Regions from separate parts of the Homo sapiens genome. Here regions 1, 2 and 4 are each linked to region 3. Evidence: promoter capture Hi-C in human tissues and cell types (Jung and others, 2019). All regions are on one chromosome and are shown on one strand. Each heading gives the region's core, a stretch centred on a gene start or on the middle of the fragment in contact. The rest is flanking DNA. Distances are from core to core; before and after follow the strand shown.

Region 1 (3,020 bases), core at 402-2,901, 1.5 Mb before region 3:
CAGTCAGATGCCACCATGCCCAGCTAATTTTTGTATTTTTTGTAGACAAGGGGGTTTCACCATGTTGCCCAGGCTCGTCTTGAATACCTGGGCTCATGTGACCCACCTGTCATGGCCTCTGAAAGTGCTGGGATTATAGACCTGAGACACTGCATCTGATCTCATCGTAAATTTGATGTTTCTTCTTGTTTCAATTTTAGCAGAATTTATATTGCTTTGATAGAGTCTCTTTTCAAACTCATGTCTTATCCTTCTGAGTGCCTTAAACTACAGCCTGTTCAGACATAACAGACTTGTACCAGTGTTTTGTTGCAAAAACTAAAATTCATGCAAATTTTCTCATAATAGGTATTTTTCCATGAACTTCTTCAAGATCCATTGTACTAGAAAACTGTATTCAAGAGGACATTAAAAAAATGTAGATATTCAAGTGCCACTTATTTCTGGGATGCAAGGATGGTTCAACATATTCAAGCAAATCAATGTGATATACCACTTGAACAGAACAAAAGATGAAAACCACATCATCTTAATAGAGAAAAAGCATTTCACAAAATTCAAAATCCAGTCATCATAGAAATCCTAAACAAAATAGACAGAAAAGGAAATTTACCTCAACAATAGAAAGACCGTCCATGAAATGACCAATGAGTAAACAGTCAAGCAGGGAAAATGTAATGCCTTTCCTGGAGGCTCTCACATGATGCAAGAATGCTCTCACCCCTTCTATTCAATCAATACTGGCTGTCCCAGCCAGAGCAATGAAATAGCAGAGGAAATAAAACTCATCCAAATCAGAAAGTAAGAAGTAAAATTATATTTGTTTGTAGATGACATAATCTTCTGTGTAGAAAATCACAAAGAGCCAACCAAAATACTACTGGAACTAAGTAACATAGTCAGTGGATTTGCACAATACAGTATCAGCACCAAAAATTAGTTGAATTTCCATACTTTAACAATAAACAATTTTAAAAGAAAATTTTAAAACACTTCCATTTGCTGGAGAACTTAAAGAAATACTTAGAAATAAACGTACAAAGGTCAGAAGTTTGTACCTTGAAATCTACAAACATTGATCAAAATGATTAAAAACATTGAGCTACAACCCATATTGATAGCTTGGAAAAATTAATATTGTGAAATGATTATATAATAACCCAATGTGATTTAGATTCAACATGATATCCATAAAAATCCCTATCAGTTTTTTTAAAGAAACAAAAAACAGGCTGGGAAAATGGCTCACGTCTGTTGGCCAGGCTGATCTCAAACTCCTGACCTCAAGTGATCTACCCACCTTGGCCTCCCAAAGCGCTCAGATTACAGGTGTAAGCTGATGTGCCTGGCCCAATCCTCTTAACATAAACACTAATGTCAATTAATGCTTGAACTCAATGTTAAGTCAATACAAACTCAAGTCAATGCTGAATTGACCCTAATGTCAATTAATGCTTGATGGTTTGCTCTACTCATTGCATATGGACCAACTACCTCCAAAATGAATTTTCTCATATTCTGCAAGGAGTGAACTCAGACTGAAGACCTTGGCACATTGATGACATTTGTAAGATTTCTGTCCAGTATGCATTCTCTGATGTCTCATGAGGTGTGAAGTGAAGGCTTTGCCACTATCATCACACATGTGAGGTTTCTCTCCTGTATGAATTCTCCTATGTTTTGCATAGGATGAAGCTTGACTGAAGACCTTGCCACAGTCATGACATTTGTAAGGTTTCTCTCCAGCGTTGAGTTCACCGATGAACTGCAAGGTATGAACAATGTCTGAAAAATCTGCCACATTTATTACCCTAGTATGATCTCTCTTCCTTATGGATTCTCCAGTGATTCACAATGGTTGTAGCATTACTGAAGACTTTGTGACAATCATTACCTTAGTAAAGTTTCCCTACACCATGGATTGCCTGACGGTAAACAAGTGTTGACTGCCTACTAAAGGCTTTGCCACACTCATTACACTGGTAAGGTTTCTCTCCAGTGTGAATTCTAGCATGTTGTGCCAGGTGCGAATCATGCCCAAAAGCCTTGTCACAAACTCTTACATTTTTATGGTTTCTCTCCAGTATGAATTCTCCTGTCTTTCACGGTTTGATGTGCGACTGTAAACTTTGTGACATTCTTCACATTTATAAGCTTTCTCTCCAGTATGAATTCTCCTGTCTTCTGAGGCTTGATTTGCCACTGTAAACTTTATCACATGCTTCACATTTCTAAGGTTTCTCCCCAGTATGAATTCTATGATGACCTGCAAGGTGTGCTTGTTGATTAAAAACCTCACCACATTCATTACACTTGTTTTTCTCCAGTATGAAGTCTACGATGGCATGTAAGGTTTGACTTCTGACTAAAGGTCTTGCCACACTCATTACACTTGTAAGGTTTCTCTCCAGTATGAAGTCTATGGTGGCATATAAGGGATGACTTCTGACTAAAGTTCTTGCCACACTCATTACACTTATAAGGTTTCTCTCCAGTATGAAGTCTATGATGGCATATAAAATATGACTTCCGACTAAAGGTCTTGCCACACTCATTACACTTGTAAGGTTTCTCTCCAGTATGAATTCTCCTATGTCCTTCAAGGTTTGATTTCACACGGAAAGCTTTGTCACATTCTTCACATTTGTAAGGTTTCTCTCCGGTATGAAGTCTACGATGGCATGTAAGGGATGACGTCCGACTGAAGGTCTTGCCACACTCATTACACTTGTAAGGATTCTCTTCAGTATGAATTTTCTGATGTATTTCAAGGTTTGATTTGAAACTGTAAGCTTTGTCACTATCTTCACATTTGTAAGGGTTCTCTCCACTATGAAGTCTACGATGGCGTTTAAGGGTTAACTGCTGATTGAAGGTCTTGCCACACTCCTTACACTTGTAAGGTTTCTCTCCAGAATGAAGTCTACGATGGCAGGTAAGGGATGACTTCCAACTAAAGGTCTTGCCGCACTCATTACACTTGTAAGCTTTCTCTCCAGTATGAAGTCTATGATGGCATG
Region 2 (3,417 bases), core at 177-2,676, 1.0 Mb before region 3:
TCAACGTACTGGAGCAATGCGCAGCCTAGGTCTCTGGTGGGAAACTTCTGGAGGTCCCGAGCCAGTGCTTCCCTGAAGATGGTGGGGGAGTTCTTGAACCCTTGCAGAAGCCGGGTCCAAGAGTACTGAGCAGTGACACCTGATCCCAGATCTTCCTACTGAAAGGCAAACAGCTTCTGGCTCTGAGGGGCTAGTCTAATGCTAAAGAAAGTGTCTTTCAGGTCTAAGCCAGAGAACCAGCTGTCCTCAGCTGGCAGCAACCTTAACGTGTACGGGTTAGGTACTGTTGGATGTAAAGTCACTGTAGCTTGATTGACTAAGTGCAAGTCCTGTACCGGCCTGTAGTCATTGGTCCCTGGCGTGGGAACAGGCAGGAGGGGAGTGTTCCAGGGAGACTGACAAGGGACTGTAATTCTAAAGGCTCTCAGGCTCTTGAGATGGACCTGGATACTTTCAAGATCTTCTCTGGGGACCAGGTACTGTTTTTGCCTGACTGGCTGGGCCCTACGCTTAACTTCTATAAGTACCAGGGCTTGGTTAACTGCCATCCCTGGAGGGTTGTCTTCTGTCTACACCCTTGGCCACCGCTTAGCCAGAGTTGGTCTTATCTCTTGGCCTGGCTCAGTTAAAAGAAGTCTCCATTCCTCTTCCTGGGGGACTGTAAGGGCCATAATGACTCCCGTTCTGGGTAACCTTAGCTGTAAAGAGCTGTGCTCTGTAGAAGAGACGGTGGCTCTCAGCTCGCTAAGCAAGTCCTTTCAAGTCCTTTCAAGTCAGGCATGTACAAGAACTGGTGAATCACTTTATGTCTTCCTACAGTACAAGTCTGGGGCAACAGAAAGCTTGCTTTGATAAAACTCCCATGGCTCCGATTATAACAATAGTCTTTTTGGAAAGGGGGGCAACCGGGGCGGTTACTACTGAATGTTCAGCACTGGTATCAATACGAAAATCAATGTCTTTGCCCCTAACTGTCATCTTGACCATGGGCTCCTTGGGGGCAGTTGAGCCTGGTCCTCCTCAGTTCAGTAACTCTTCTGCTATATTGAACAGGGCTCCTTCTGGGGCCTCCTGCTCTGAGCCACCTTGTTTTCCTTTTAGCTGAGGGCACTTGTCCTTCTAATATCCTATTTCTTTACAGTAAGCACACTGGTTACACTGCAAGTTCGGATGGCCAGGCTAAGTATCTTTCTGGGGCACATGCCTACCTGGTAGCACTCTCAGAATCCATGTCGCCCAAGCTGGCTGGAGTACCCAGCAGGGATGCTCCAAAGGGCAGGCCTAAGTCACCTAAGGGGTTGCCTCGACCTTCTGTTAATTACCTCGCTTCCAAGTCAGGGAACCAAGAAATGTAGCATGACGAGCCGCAGACAGTACCTCTCAGACAACGGATTAAAGAAGGAAGTGGCTTTATTCGGCCCAGCGCATCAGAGGACTCGTGTCTCAAGAACTGAGCTCCCTGAAAAAGAAATTCCTGGCCCTTTTAAGGGCTTACAGCTCTAAGGCATCCACGTGAAAGGGTCATGATAGATCAAGCAAGTGTGGGGAATGTGACTTGACACTACGTGCATCAGCTAACAGAACAGAAACTTTTGCAATGCTTCTTCATACAATGTCTAGAATTTACAGATAACATAAGTAGTTTAGGTCAGGGGTTGGTATTATTATTATTTTTAACCACCGGGGCCAGGTGGTAGCACCAAGGTCGTCTGGCTATTTATCTTACTTCTGTTTCTTTCTAACTTTTTGCTTTCTTCCTTTCCTCCTGTCTTATAAACTAGGCAAGGGGGAGGGAGGAAGGCAGCAGGAGAAGTGGTGGTCTGCTTCCTACCTCAGCCTCCAGAGTAGCTGGGACCACAGCTGCGTGCCACCACACCACACTAATTTTTGTGTTCTTCGTAGAGATGGGCTTTCGCCATGTTGCTCAGGCTGGTGTCCAACCCCAGAGCTGAAGGGATCCAGCTGCATCGGCCTCCCAAAATGCTGGGATTACAGGCATGCTGTTTTATCAGATTGCTATTATAATAGGATGGGACCCACACTCAATAATACTTACAATGGCACTGGTGATTCTTATCTGTGTCCAGCATTAAACATCAAGGAAGTTTCCTCCATGTTGAGAGCTGAGATCAGTCTGTGATCCACAGGGAGGTGAGGGGGCTGTGCTCTGCATGGAGTTTGGTTAGGGCTAGATCTGTGCCCTGAAGATCTGTGTCCTGCTGCAGCGTGTGTGTGGACTTTTCCAGGAGGGGAGCAAGATCTGAAAACGGGTCAAAATTACATTTGTAGGTCTTCCTGTGGAACTTTCTTATCTCTGCATGGTCTCTGGTGCAGTGGGTAGCAAAGGACCATCTTTCTCTCGGGTGAGGTTTCCCCTGTGTGTGTGTTTTGTCACAGGAAAGGAGTCAATGGTTTCTAAATATTAAATCTCTTGCTTTTTTAACATACAGGATTTCCAAAGACTCATGTTACGTGAGGAAGCCACCAAGAAGAGCAAAGAAAAGGAGCCAGGGATGGCTCTTCCTCAGGTAAGTGATATTCCTTGGTGGATTCTTCTGTCTCTTTCCTTTCTGAAGTGCCAGGTATTGTAGTAGCCAATCTTCTCTGAGTGTGAAGCATTCTACATCACACGTTTGCTCGCACTCACCCGTGTCTTTTCTCAGTCCCTCTCATCTTCACTTAAATTCCATCTCCTATAACCTAGTGACATGAGCTTGGGAAGAGGCTCCACTGGGCATGGTCCTGGGAAGGGCTCACACCAGACATGGATGGAGATGGGGTGTGGGCCCCATGGTGTCAGTGATGTTGGGCAGCAGGGATTGTTCAGGGGCCACATCTGGATGCATGTTTAGCTCTTTGTGGACCAGATCAGAGAAACTGTATATGAAAGTCATACATTAATGTTCACTGGTTAATCTGGTAAATTCTGGAAGAGGAGACAAACTAGGGGAGATATTTTGTGTCTGATTTTGTAATGCATTTGAAGCTACACTAGTGAGTCAATATGTCTCTGACGCCAAACTTTTGTTTTAAGAGACACGGTGTCACTCTGGGGCCCAGTCTGGAGTGCAATGGCACAATTCTAGTTTACAGCAGCCTCGAACTCCTGGGCTTAAGTGGCCCTCCCACCTGAGCTTCCCAAATTGCTGGGATTACAGGTGTGAGACAGCCCAGCAGGACTCTGCACTTTCAATGTCTTAGAATAGAATGGAAAGCGGATATAGATACCAGTAATAGAGTTAGCTTTATTCCATCATTGACTTCAAATTATGAAATCAATATAAATATCTAACTGCAGGGGATTCTTTAAATCATTCTCAGCACTTTGACCCCACAGAGACTTTTTTTTTGTTTTTTGTTTTGTTTTGTTTTTTTTACAGGGACTCTGATGAAGCAAACATTTTAGGTAAAAATGAT
Region 3 (3,375 bases), core at 381-2,880:
TAGAAAACTGAAATTGAAATATACAAAAATCTTATCAAAAGTCATTACTGGGGAACACATTTTGGGATAAGAGAGATGTTTTACTTGTGTCAGAACCTGAAAGAAAATATTTACGTGTGTGTATACACACATTCACACAGTAAACCTGAGGAAGAAGAACGAAAATCTTTAATAGAAACCTTATCATTTTCTTCGTTTTGTTTTTTCCTTTTTCTTTTCTCCTTTTCTTTTCTTTTTTTTTTTTTTTTGAGGCAGGGTCTCACTCTGTTGCCCAGGCTGGAGTGCAGTGCTCAATCATAGTTCACTGCAGCCTAGAACTCCCGGGGTCACGTGATCGTCCCACCTCAGCCTCCCGAGTAGCTGAGACTACAGGCGTGTGTTACCACACCCAGTTAATATTTGTATTTTTTGGAGAGACAGGCTATGTTGTTCAGGCTGATCTCCAACTTCTAGGCTCGAGCAATTCGCCCACTTTGGCCTCCCAAATGCTGGGAATATAGGCGTGAGCCACCGCGCCAGGCCACCTTACCATTTTAGATTTGATTAATCTTTGATCTTCCCCAAAGCTTTCCTATTTACCAGGATGAGAGAAAGGAGAGATGTGAGAAGTCAAATGAGATTTGTAAACCAGTCCTTGCAGAGAAACTTAAAAGGGACTGAGAGGGAATGTACCGTTGGACCTGAACACACACACCAATCAGGATGCCCTGGCTGCCAAGGCTTCAGCCTTCACAAGCTTCTCCACGACTGTCACATCTAGACCTCCCTAACATGGTCACACCCCCTTAGATTAATCCAAAAACCTGGACCACACACCTAGGTTCACATGAACCCGGGCTCCTCCTCACTGAGTCGCATATTAAATCCTGATTACAGCCTGGAGCGAAGGCTCACGCCCGTAATCCCAGCACTTTGGGAGGCCAAGGTGAGAGGATCGTTTGAGGCCAGGAGTTGGAGACCAGCCTGGGCAACATAGTGAGACCCCCGTCTCTGCAATAAACAGATAGATTAGATAGATAAATTAGATAGATAGATAGATAGATAGATAGATTAGATTAGACAGATTAGATAGATAGATAGATAGATAGATAGCGTGGTGGCGCTCACCTGTAGTCCCAGCTACTCGGGAAAGCTGAGGTGGGAAAATCACCTGAGCCCCGGGAGATGGAGGCTGCAGTGAGCCACGATTGCGCCACTGCACTCAAGCCTGTGTGACAGAGCGAGACCCTGTCTCAAAAATAAAAAATAAAACCCCGAATCCGAAGCAGACACAGTTTTCCTTGACAAAAACCACTCCTCACTCCAGTCCTCAATCACCGAGCCCTACAGAGTGACCCGCAAAGGCACCAAACCCTGATCACGGACTTCCAAGTGTTGCTCTGGACAGACTCTGACCACCGACCACTGGGATCCCTCAGGGCTGACTCCGGAGACGCCCCAACCCCAATACCCCGACTCCCACTTGCTCCCGCTTCCCCCACAAACTCCACGGCTCCGCACTAAACGGACGCCCACAGACACCCTCCTCCCCTCATCCTGACAGACAGACCCACACACAGACCTGATTTTGCGGGGAACCCACCGAGACTTCCCAGAACCTGCACTTTCCTGAATTATTCCACTTCTGGGCCCTCCCCCAGCCTCCAAGCCGGCCTACGGCGGCCGAGGAAGGTCTGAAGTTGCAGGTGTACGGAGCACGGACGACTGGGAGGTAGTAAGTTCGCGTCCTCTCGTCACGGATACTGGAGGCAGCCATCTTTGAATCCTGCACGTACGGAAGGTAAAGTGGACCTTTTCTGCCCAAGTATTCAGGGATAGCGCGGGACGGTGAAGAACTCCATATTTTGGCACCTAAATCCTGCGCCCAAGTTTCATTTATTTTCAGAGGGTCGAGCTTAGCCAAGACAAACATGGTATGGCTACGTGCACCTTAGCGGGCTGGGGAGAAAAGTCATCCGCTTTGCACAAAGAATGACGGGAATGACACAATGGGCGCGGCCATCTTAACACTTAGGTGTCCGTACAAGTGAAAACGCTTTCTCCACAGAGGAAAAAGAGCAATCGCACCCTGAGTCATATACCGCGAAAACGCATCTAGCTACATGTGGAGGACAAGAGGAAGATTTTTGAGGACCAAAAGGGTGTGGAGAGGCAATCGAGGTACGAGGATATTGTTCACCCCGTCAACGGAAAGTGAAAAAACAGCGACCCCTGGAACCTCATTTACATTTGAGGGACACGGTCACCGCCCAGTGCAGGTAAAGAGAGCAGCCACCAGCCAACCGGAAAAGGAATCCAATGCGGGAGGCGGGAATTTTCCTTAAGAGAGAAGAAGGGCCTTCCCTCTGCTGTAGGTGGAGTCAATCTTAACGTCGGGGCTTTCGGAGAACCAAGTGCCTAAAATTCTGGAAGGAATAAATAAGGCGACTCTGGGAGAATGAAAAGTTGTGCAAGCCCGGGCGCGATGGCGCACACGTGTAGTCCCAGCTACTGGGGAGACCAAGGCAGGAAGATCGCTTGAGCCCAGGAGTTCCAGGCTGCAGTGAGCTATGATCGCACCTATCAATAGCCACTGCACTACACAGCCTTGGCAACCCCTTCATGAGGAAAAAAAGAAAAAAGAAAAAAAAAAGTTGTGCAAGAAAAGTAATCATAGGATACTACCTGACTGACCTATAAATATTATTTACATAGTCATCATAACGTAAATTCTAATTCTGATCCAACCTAAATTAAGACAATTCCATTGGAAGAATGAGAAGGAAATTCCTGCATGCAGTGGAGTGTTTATATTTATAACAGAGTTTTCACGTGTCCTTCATGATACATCTATAGAAAATGCCCCAAAATGCAAACTCCATTTCAGAAACATACCGTGTTACTTAAAATATCAAATCTGTGAAGAGTGAAAAGCTTTACAGAACTATATGACTCCTTAGGAGAATTGCAAAATAAAAGCAAGAATCTTATGACTCAGGAATTCCACTCCTAGATACTTATACAACAGTAATGAAATGATATGTCCTCACAAAGACTCACAAGAATGTTCTTAGCACCTTTATGCATAATACCCTGAACAGGAAACAGTCCAAGTGTCCATCAGTACATGAATGTATAAGCAAATTGCAGTGTAATCATACCCTGGAATACTACTGAACAATAATAAAAAACAAATCATAGATGCATGCACCAACATAGATAAATCTCAACAACCTTATGAAGGGGGCCAGCCTCTCCACACCTGTGGGTATTTCTCATCTGGTGGGATGAGAGACTGAGAAAAGAAATAAGACACACTGACAAAGTATAGAGAAAGAACAGTGGGCCCAGGGGACCAGCACTCAGCATACGAAGGACTCCTGCCAGCACTGGTCT
Region 4 (3,370 bases), core at 100-2,599, 1.5 Mb before region 3:
GTAAGGTTTCTCACCAGTGTGAATTCTCCTATGTCTTTCAAGGTTTGATTTGAAACTGAAAGCTTCATCACATTCTTCACATTTGTAAGGTTTCTCTCCACTATGAAATTTATGATGGTATACAATGGATGACGTATGACTGAAGATCTTGCCACAATCATTACACTTATAACATTTCTCTCCAGTATGAATTTTCTGACGTATTTCAAGATTTTATTTGAAACTGTAAGCCTTGTCACATTCTCCACACTTGCAAGGTTTCTCTCCACTATGAAGTCTACAATGGCAGGTAAGGGATAACTCCTGACTGAAGGTCTTGCCACACTCATTACATTTGTACAGTTTCTCTCCATTATGAATTCTCCTATGTCTTTCAAGACTTGATTTGAAACGGAAAGCTTCATCACATTCTTCACACTTGTAAGGTTTCTCTCCAGTATGAAGTCTACGATGGCATGTAAGGGTTGACATATGACTGAAGGTCTTGCCACAATCATTACACTTGTATGGTTTCTCTCCAGTATGAGTTATCCTATGACTTTCAAGGTTTGATTTGAAACTGAAAGCTTTGTCACATTCTTCACATTCGTAAGGTTTCTTTCCAGTATGAATGCTACGATGGCATGCAAGGTATGACTTCTGACTAAAGGTCTTGCCACACTCATTACACTTATGTGGTTTCTCTCCAGTATGAATTCTCCTATGTCTTTGAAGGGCTGAATTGTGTCTGAAAGCTTTGTCACATTCTTCACATTTGTAAGGTTTCTCTCCAGTATGAAGTCGATGATGATATGTAAGGGATGACATCTGACTGAAGGACTTGCCACACTCATTACACTTGTAAGGTTTCTCACCAGTGTGACATCTACGATGGCGTGCAAGGTATCGCTTCCGAATAAAGACCTTGTCACATACATCACATTTATATTGTTTCTCTCCTAGATGAATAATCTGATGTTTCCTTAAGAGTGAGCTATAATTAAAGGCTTTGCCACTCTCAATACATTGGAAAGATTTTTCTCTCATGCGTACTTCCTGTCTTTGTGTGAGTAATGAATAATTCAGAAAATTATCCCCATAGTTATTAGATATATGGGTTTTGGGCCTACAAGAAATTCTTTGGGCTGTTGAAACCGAGGAAGCATCGTTGATAGACTTCTCCACTTGATTATTAATTTTCCCTTTGGGCTGAAATATGTGGAGTTCAGACAGATGTGAATGAAAGCTTGATCCAAGCTGATATTTAATAGGCTTGTTTCCAGCATGCCTGTGATCATATTGCTCTGTACTACCCATCAATTTTTTGATTTTTGTCATGGGTGCTTCATGGCCATTTCTTTCATCTTCTTGCCACTGAAACTCAAAGTTATGAATATCTTTCTCAATTTCCTGGAAGGAAAAATCTCCAATGTGATGACGTTCATGTCTTTGCAATGTCCCTGTGTGGATCACTTCTGTATTGCCTTGTGCTGTTGATGAGAACTCCTTCATTGTGCATTTGGAAGAGATACCTACAAAATATAAACACTAATAGGTACACAAAAGACAATACTGATTTTAAACTTCCCAAACATGATCTTCAAAGTTTAGGAACACAAAATCGTAAGATTCTTTAATAAATAAAGGGCGATTACATGTGCTTCAAATTATTATTATGAAAGCTTATTTCCAATATCATGACAAAACACTGAAGGGCACAAACATGTGTAAGCCTAAAATAAGGAGTATTTTTCCACTGTGACCCTAAAGTGTCTAACAGTTTGCAAAAGACATATCACTGTCACATCAATGAAAAGTATATATTCTTCATATTTACAGCATACTTACTGTATACAAATAAATACTAAAGGACCACACAATATAATATACTGGTAAATAATCCACAGCAAGCTCATGTAAGGATAACCAAAATCAATGGAAATTCTGTATTGTTAAATAATCATAGCACTGAGAAGATAAGAAAAGTTTACAAAATTTAGCAAGGCATGGTGGTGCACGTCTGTACTCCCAGCTACTCGCAAGGGTGAGGTACAAGAATTGCTTGAACCCAAGAGGCAGAGGTTGCAGTGAGCCGAGATCGCACCACTGTACTTCAGCCTGGATGACAAAGTGAGACTCCATCTCAAAAAAAAAAAAATATTTTTCTGAATAACTGTCATAAAATTACCTATATCCATGCAGAAAAGGCATATTGTAACATTTAAAATTTTTTTTTTATTTTTGTATTTTTGAGACAATGTTTCACTGTGTCACAACAGGCTGGAGGGCAATGGCCTGATCTCAGCTCACTGCAACCTCCACCTTTTGGGTTCAAGCCATTCTCCTGCCTCAGCCTCCTGAGTACATGGGATTACAGGCACATGCCAGCATGCTTGGCTAATTTTTGTATTTTTAGTAGAGATAGGGTTACATCATATTGGCCAGGCTGGCCTTGAACTTTTGACCTCAAGTGATCCACCCGCCTCAGCCTCCCAAAGTCCTGGGATTGCAGGCGTGAGCCACAGCACCCGCTGGCACTTTGTGACATTAACTAGTAAACTGTGTCAGTTATATTGCATACCACATACCGAAAAGCTTTATGTAAAATCATAAAAATGAATTGGTAAAATAACTGTAACGCATAAAACCAGCAAGCAAATCATAAGTACATTTATACAAACTGCAGAATTCTAAACAATTCCCTGTTAAGAAAAAAGCACAACTTCTACTTACCACCAGCACACAATATAAGAACTGAAATACATGTTAAGATCACTACCTTCTGATGTATGAGGTCAAAAAAATATGCAGCATTATAATGAATAAGAATTCACTAACAGCCGGGTGCAGTGGCTCATGCCTGTAATTCCAGCACTTTGGGAGGCCGAGGTGGGAAGACCATGAGGTCAGGAGTTCAAGAATAGCCTGGCCAACGTGGTGAAACCATAACTCTACTAAAAATACAAAAAAATTAGCTGGGTGTGGTGGCGGGTGCCTGTAATCTCAGCTACTCAGAAGGCTGAGGCAAGAGAATCGTTTGAACCCAGGAGGTAGAGTTTGTGGTGAGCCAAGGTCCCACCACTGCACTCCAGCTTGAGTGACAGGGTGAGACTTCGTCTCTAAGAAAAAAAAAAAGAATTGACTAATAGTGCCGGAGGGTGCAATTATGATGTCACAACTACATTTATGAAACAGCCAGGCAATACAGCAATTCTATATATATATATACATTGCCCTATGTATCTAGTTCACTATGCATAAAATATAAAACATAGAATGTGTACTGGGAAAATTTATAAACTGAGATCAGAGAAAACATTGTATGAAACAAATTAAACAATAAAAACATAAATAAGATGATGCAGGCTCCCTGGTCTGAATGTTTGTATTG

What was found. Contacts are between HindIII fragments. The study calls those that stand out against the background at their distance.
Region 1: a fragment that was not itself captured here is called in contact with the fragment with the promoter of ZNF613 in region 3 in 2 of the 25 tissues and cell types used here (aorta and stomach).
Region 2: a fragment that was not itself captured here is called in contact with the fragment with the promoter of ZNF613 in region 3 in 1 of the 25 tissues and cell types used here (aorta).
Region 4: a contact is called between a fragment that was not itself captured here and the fragment with the promoter of ZNF613 in region 3, in 2 of the 25 tissues and cell types used here (aorta and pancreas).

What each region holds. Positions count from the first base shown.
Region 1 is chr19:53,456,036-53,459,055 of GRCh38, reverse strand. ZNF765-ZNF761 (ZNF765-ZNF761 readthrough) reads right to left here. Exons shown (of 13, transcript NM_001350496.2): 13 at 795-3,020. The coding sequence ends at 2,308. ZNF761 (zinc finger protein 761) reads right to left here. Exons shown (of 5, transcript NM_001289951.2): 5 at 795-3,020. The coding sequence ends at 2,308. Among named protein-coding and RNA genes, the nearest start is that of ZNF813, 10 kb to the left of the region's middle. The HindIII fragment of the contact is 5,248 bases long and covers 1-3,020 here.
Region 2 is chr19:52,955,138-52,958,554 of GRCh38, reverse strand. ZNF816-ZNF321P (ZNF816-ZNF321P readthrough) reads left to right here. Exons shown (of 4, transcript NM_001202473.2): 2 at 2,451-2,528. The coding sequence starts at 2,466. It overlaps ZNF816 (zinc finger protein 816), which reads left to right. Exons shown (of 4, transcript NM_001202457.3): 2 at 2,451-2,528. The coding sequence starts at 2,466. Among named protein-coding and RNA genes, the nearest start is that of ZNF816, 6.0 kb to the left of the region's middle. The HindIII fragment of the contact is 5,247 bases long and covers 1-3,417 here.
Region 3 is chr19:51,925,727-51,929,101 of GRCh38, reverse strand. It overlaps ZNF613 (zinc finger protein 613), which reads right to left and starts at 1,630. Exons shown (of 6, transcript NM_001031721.4): 1 at 1,562-1,630. RefSeq lists enhancers at 1,692-1,991, 1,847-2,610. The HindIII fragment of the contact is 6,749 bases long and covers 1-3,375 here.
Region 4 is chr19:53,378,863-53,382,232 of GRCh38, reverse strand. It overlaps ZNF525 (zinc finger protein 525), which reads right to left. Exons shown (of 4, transcript NM_001348156.2): 4 at 1-1,511. The coding sequence ends at 214. Among named protein-coding and RNA genes, the nearest start is that of ZNF765, 15 kb to the left of the region's middle. The HindIII fragment of the contact is 5,110 bases long and covers 1-3,370 here.